Regions from separate parts of the Homo sapiens genome. Here region 2 is linked to region 1. The links are contacts of gene promoters, found by promoter capture Hi-C in blood cells and fetal thymus (Javierre and others, 2016). All regions are on one chromosome and are shown on one strand. Each heading gives the region's core, a stretch centred on a gene start or on the middle of the fragment in contact. The rest is flanking DNA. Distances are from core to core; before and after follow the strand shown.

The links. Contacts are between HindIII fragments. The CHiCAGO score rates a contact against its expected background, and 5 or more counts as called.
Region 2: a fragment that was not itself captured here is called in contact with the fragment with the promoter of CD38 in region 1 in 1 of 17 cell types (activated CD4 T cells); the score reaches 5.9 in activated CD4 T cells.

Annotation. Positions count from the first base shown.
Region 1 is chr4:15,776,985-15,779,708 of GRCh38, forward strand. It overlaps CD38 (CD38 molecule), which reads left to right and starts at 1,344. Exons shown (of 8, transcript NM_001775.4): 1 at 1,344-1,663. The coding sequence starts at 1,431. RefSeq lists enhancers at 1,129-1,771, 1,183-1,682 and silencers at 1,813-1,862, 2,053-2,102. The HindIII fragment of the contact is 6,782 bases long and covers 1-2,724 here.
Region 2 is chr4:17,614,474-17,617,197 of GRCh38, forward strand. It overlaps MED28 (mediator complex subunit 28), which reads left to right and starts at 168. Exons shown (of 4, transcript NM_025205.5): 1 at 168-340. The coding sequence starts at 182. MED28-DT (MED28 divergent transcript) reads right to left here and starts at 107. Exons shown (of 3, transcript NR_186331.1): 1 at 1-107. RefSeq lists enhancers at 1-712, 1-107, 208-317. The HindIII fragment of the contact is 2,253 bases long and covers 259-2,511 here.

The DNA.
Region 1 (2,724 bases), core at 94-2,593:
ACTAACACAGGAACAGAAAACCAAGCACTGCATGTTCTCACTTATAAGTGGGAGCTGAACAATGAACACAGGGAGGGGAACAACACACACTGGGGCCTGTTGGGGAGAGTGGAGGGAGGGAGAGCATCAGAAAGAATAGCTAAAACATGAGGGGCTTAATACCTAAGCAATGGATTGATAGGTGCAGCAAACCACCATGGCACACATTTACCTATGTAACAACTCTGCACGTCCTGTACATGTATCCCAGAACTTAAAACAAAATAAAAAAGATAAAAAATAAATAAAACACACAGTCCAAAAAGTCATCCTGTCTTACAGAGCTATGGGTGATCTGGTCTCCTGCTACTTTCCGAACTTCTGTTCTGTTTCCCTCAACCCTCTAGCCTAACTACAATTGGCCTCCTTGCTGCTCTGGAACAGGCCAAGAGCTTTTCTGCCTCAGAGTCTTTGCACCTGCCATTTCCTCTGCTTGGGAAATGTTTGCCCCAAGGGAGTTGGGTGACTTGATCGCTCACATTACTTAGGTCTCTGCTTGAATGTCACAGATGTTCTCTTAATAAAGAAGAGGCAAGAAAAGCCACTTTATTATTTATTAAACTCCCGCATAGAGTGCAGTATTATTACTGTGTGCCAGACCCTGCTTCAAACACATTCCATGGACTATAAAATTGCATCTCTGAGCAGCTCCTAGAGCTGGTAGTAACAACTTACATTTACTGGGTGATTACCATGTGCCAGGTATTGTGCTAAACACGTTGTAGATATTAACTCACTTAATCCTCGTAACAATCCCATGAAGTAGGTACTGCTACTATCCCGGCTTTACATCTGAAGTACAGAGAGGTTAAGTAACTTGCCCCATGTCATCCAGCAAGAACTAAATTTGAACCCAGAGCTTAGCCACTGATGCCTCTTGAGAGAAGGAGTCAGACTTAAGTTGAGTCTTTAAAGGTGGTTGACCAGGCATTTGTCAGAGTTAAGAAAGAGAGGTAGGACATCCTTTTCCAGGCAGAGGGCATTGTGTGCACACACGTATAGAAGCAGGCAGCCCACCCTCATGCTTTCCAGGAAGCAAATGTGGCTCAGGTGTAAAGTGCCCGGTTGATGAAGGGAGTTAGCGGAGGGAGTATAAGGATGTACTGTCTGCCCCCTTAGGACACCTGCAGAGGATTAAGGTGGCTGTTTCTCCCTGGAGGTGGAGTGGGTGGGTCACTGCACAGGAGCCTATAGTTGTTGGTCTTTTAAACTCTTATTGGTGTAACCAGCCACGGAACTCTGAGGCAAGGGGTTGGGGGTGGGAAGGGAAACAGAGAAAAGGCAAGTGAAACAGAAGGGGAGGTGCAGTTTCAGAACCCAGCCAGCCTCTCTCTTGCTGCCTAGCCTCCTGCCGGCCTCATCTTCGCCCAGCCAACCCCGCCTGGAGCCCTATGGCCAACTGCGAGTTCAGCCCGGTGTCCGGGGACAAACCCTGCTGCCGGCTCTCTAGGAGAGCCCAACTCTGTCTTGGCGTCAGTATCCTGGTCCTGATCCTCGTCGTGGTGCTCGCGGTGGTCGTCCCGAGGTGGCGCCAGCAGTGGAGCGGTCCGGGCACCACCAAGCGCTTTCCCGAGACCGTCCTGGCGCGATGCGTCAAGTACACTGAAATTCATCCTGAGATGAGGTGGGTTGGCGACTAAGGCGCACCGGTGGGCACTGCGGGGACAGCAGGGCCCCGCGCGCAGGGAAGCCGCCCGGATCGCCCGGAACCGGGCATCTTCCGTGGCGGGTCAGCCGAGAGCCCGCCGGGTGGTGCTGAGTAGGGAGTCCCGGGCTCGGGGCTCCGCGGGCCGCTTTCAGGAGCAGCTGGCCTTGGCACCGAGCGTGCCCGCGGGAGGCGGGGGGGGGCGCTGCTCGGTGGCTCTGCTGCGTAGCCGGTGAACACTTGGCACCGATGCCCGCCTTCTGGGCAAGGTGCCCTGAGCCCAGCCCCTCGCCGGGCTGCAGCCCACCCTCGGCGCGCTCAGCCCGCTTCACCGCTTCAGGGACGGAATAGAACTCGCAGATGCAGGGTGTCGCTGACATTTTCAACTTTTTCTGCGGTTTCCGCCCGCTGTCTCTGACCCGAAAGTGCCCCCGGACGGTTACAGAGGACACTTAAGTGGTTTGCAAAGCCTGTGGTAGGGGAGGAGGGTGTAGAAGGGCCAAACCACGGAACTTAGTTTTATTCATTTATATAAAGCAGCACTCCGATTCTTTTTGCGCGGCCTGAAATGCATGTGACCAGAGAAGTAATTAACAAAACAATGTCAACTTCTAAAACCGAGACATTACTTAGATGATAAGGCGCAGCAACTCGGTGAATCTGTACAAACCTTGGAAAAAAAACACATTAGTCTATGGGACCTTCCAGTTTTCTCATGCTCCTTTCCAGCTACTAACCTCTCCTAAAGGGAACAACCACTTTTTGGATTTGATTCCCAGGCCTCGCTTTCACCGGGAAATTATCGTTGCTTGTAAAACAGAAGAAGCCGGGAAGGCAGGCAGGGGGAGCTGCTACTTTACACTCTGTGCTTTGGGATAGCAAAATCCCGCATTTAAGCAATCCGAGGAAACGAGCAAATAGACCTCCCTCGCCTCTCCGAGCACACTCAACAGTTCCGGTTGCAAAATGTTTGCCTCCTGGGCTTCCCAGCGTCCCGTTAGTTGTTCTATTTACACATAATTAGATACTTAATGGAGAGA
Region 2 (2,724 bases), core at 135-2,634, 1.8 Mb after region 1:
TGTAAACTCTGTTTTGCGATAGACAAGAAAACAGAAGAATTAAAAATCCTCCTTCCGGGGTGCACCAGAATCCTCCCATCGCTCGGTCCTGTCACGTGACCACGCCTACTACACCAGCCACGTGAGCTTCTGAGCCGGCTTCCGCGCAGGCGCAGTGGATCTCTCTTGCGCCATTCCAAACATGGCGGCTCCACTAGGGGGTATGTTTTCTGGGCAGCCACCCGGTCCCCCTCAGGCCCCGCCGGGCCTTCCGGGCCAAGCTTCGCTTCTTCAGGCAGCTCCAGGCGCTCCTAGACCTTCCAGCAGTACTTTGGTGGACGAGTTGGAGTCATCTTTCGAGGTAATATAAGACATGGGCGTCTTTGTCCCTAGCCTTCCCTTTTTTCTGAAACGTGAACTGCGCGTACGCGTATCTCCTCCAGGGATCCGAGCAACTAATTCACAAATGGGGAAACTGAGGCTTAAAGTAAGTCACTTGCTTTAGGCTTCCCCGTGGCCCGTATTCAATTCAGGTCTGCTGGCGGGGGCGCGTAAACTCGACGTTTGTGGAAACGTGAACCCGAAGTTTGCCTAAACCCCAAACTTGGAACCCTTCCAGATTCCCAGCCGGTCCTTAGTCTCATCCCCGAGCACCGTTTCTTGCATCCCTGCATGTTTAGTAAGAGGCTCAAGCCTTTTCGGAGCTGAGAGTTTCACTGCTGTATCCTGTATCCTTTCCGCTGGGCTTCACCTTTAAACGATCCTAAAGGGACTCTTAAGAGCGGAAATTGACTTAAGTTACCAGGCGCAGCTTGGTACTAAGAGCTGAGGAAGGAGGAATGCTGGAGGTTAGGGAGGGAGGGAGGCACAGGTGACCCAATCTCTCAGTTTTGCCCAAGGAGTTTACCTTGTAGCAAGAAAGGTGAACTGTATATTGAGGGAAGATAGAGAGGTGAAAATAAGTGCTCTGGTGATTTCCAGTAGTCTTTAAAGTGGAAGATGAGCTATTCCTGTGTAGTAATAAAGTAATGTACGTTCAAATTGGAGTTAACTTTTCCACATTTTAAATCCCAGTTTTGCCGGGCGCGGTGGCTCACGCCTGTAATCCCAGCACTTTGGGAGGCCGAGGCTGGCGGATCATGAGGTCAGGAGTTCGAGACCAGCCTGACCAACATGGTGAAACCCTGACTCTACTAAAAATACAAAAATTAGCCAGGCGTGGTGGCGTGCGCCTGTAATCCCAGGTACTCGAGAGGCTGAGGCAGGAGAATCGCTTGAACCTGGGATGCGGAGGTTGCAGTGAGCGGAGACCGCGCCATTGCACTCCAGCGTGGGTGACAAGAGCTCGACTCCGTCTCAAAAAAGTAAAATAAAATATAAATAAATAAAAATCCCAACTTTGTGACTTTTGTATTGTATCTAATAGCACAGTGGTAAATGAATATAATTTGCAAGCGATTATTCAGACTGCATGGACAAAATGCTTTTACCACACGGATGTACAAAGATTTAGAAATAAATGATTTGAGATGGAGTCTCACTCTCTCGCCCAGGCTGGAGTACAGTGGCGCAATTTCGGCTTACTGCAACCTCCGCCTCCCGGGTTCAAGCGATTTTCCTGCCTCAGCCTCCCGAGTTGCTGGGATTACAGGCACCTGCCACCATGCTATTTTTTTTATTTTTTAGTAGAGACAGGGCTTCACTATCTTGGCCAGGCTGGTCTCGAACTCCTGACCTCGTGATCCACCCGCCTCGGCCTCCCAAAGTGCTGGGATTACAGGCGTGAGCCACTGCGCCTAGCCAGAAATAAATGATTTAAAGGACAGACCGTTTAGGAGGAGGAGGAGGAGACACCTTTGAGGTGGTGCTAAGTGGTAAAGGAAGGGGCTGGTGAACTTTAGAGCAGCATCTAGCATTGTGCTTGAGGGGAGCTGGCTCTCAGTCATGGGCACTTGCTGAAAGACTGGCCCTGTACAAGTCTTAGCCAAAGTTGACTCCCAGCACCCTGCTGCTTAAAAACGTACAGTGGCTGCTTGTTGCCCTTGAGATAAGATCAAGATGTTTAGTGTGGTCTCCCAGGCTTTGCATGTTGCGTTCTCTCCTTCAGACTCGTTTCCTTACTGCAGCCACACAAGACTTTCCCACGTGTACCATTTGTTTTCTCTTTGGGCTTCCAGGCCGCTCCTCAGCTCACTGCATCACTTCCTCAGTGGACCCTTCCCTGGCCTTCTTTTTAATACTTACCATTAAATTCGGCTCCATGAAGTCAGAGACTACCTGTTTTGTACCCCCACCCCTCACATTGTGTAACCTGTAGTGCTAATACAGTGGTAGTAGATAGCAAGTGCTAGATGAATATTTGTCAGACATTGAAGGAATCTGTAGTGTGGAGCCTGTAGTGTAGTTGGCTTGTGCACAGAACTCCTTGCCTGATTCACATATATGTCTGTAGGTGCCCTTGAGAGAGAACTCCCTCTGGGACTTGATTATCCATACAGAGAATACAGAGAAAACCAGTCCCTGCCTTCAGGAAGCTTGTAATAAACGGCAGGCAGTTGCCTTGTTGTAGGATCACTGCTCTGATAGAAGAAACCTGGGGTACTGTGGGAGCACATATAGGTGTGGACATCAAAGAAGGCTTCCCAGAGAGCAGGAAAGCCAAAGAAGCATTTTGACTTAGCCAGGTGAAGGGGAGTGGGAGTGGTGCGAGCTGGATCCTCTCTGCTGCTGGGTGATCACGATCTG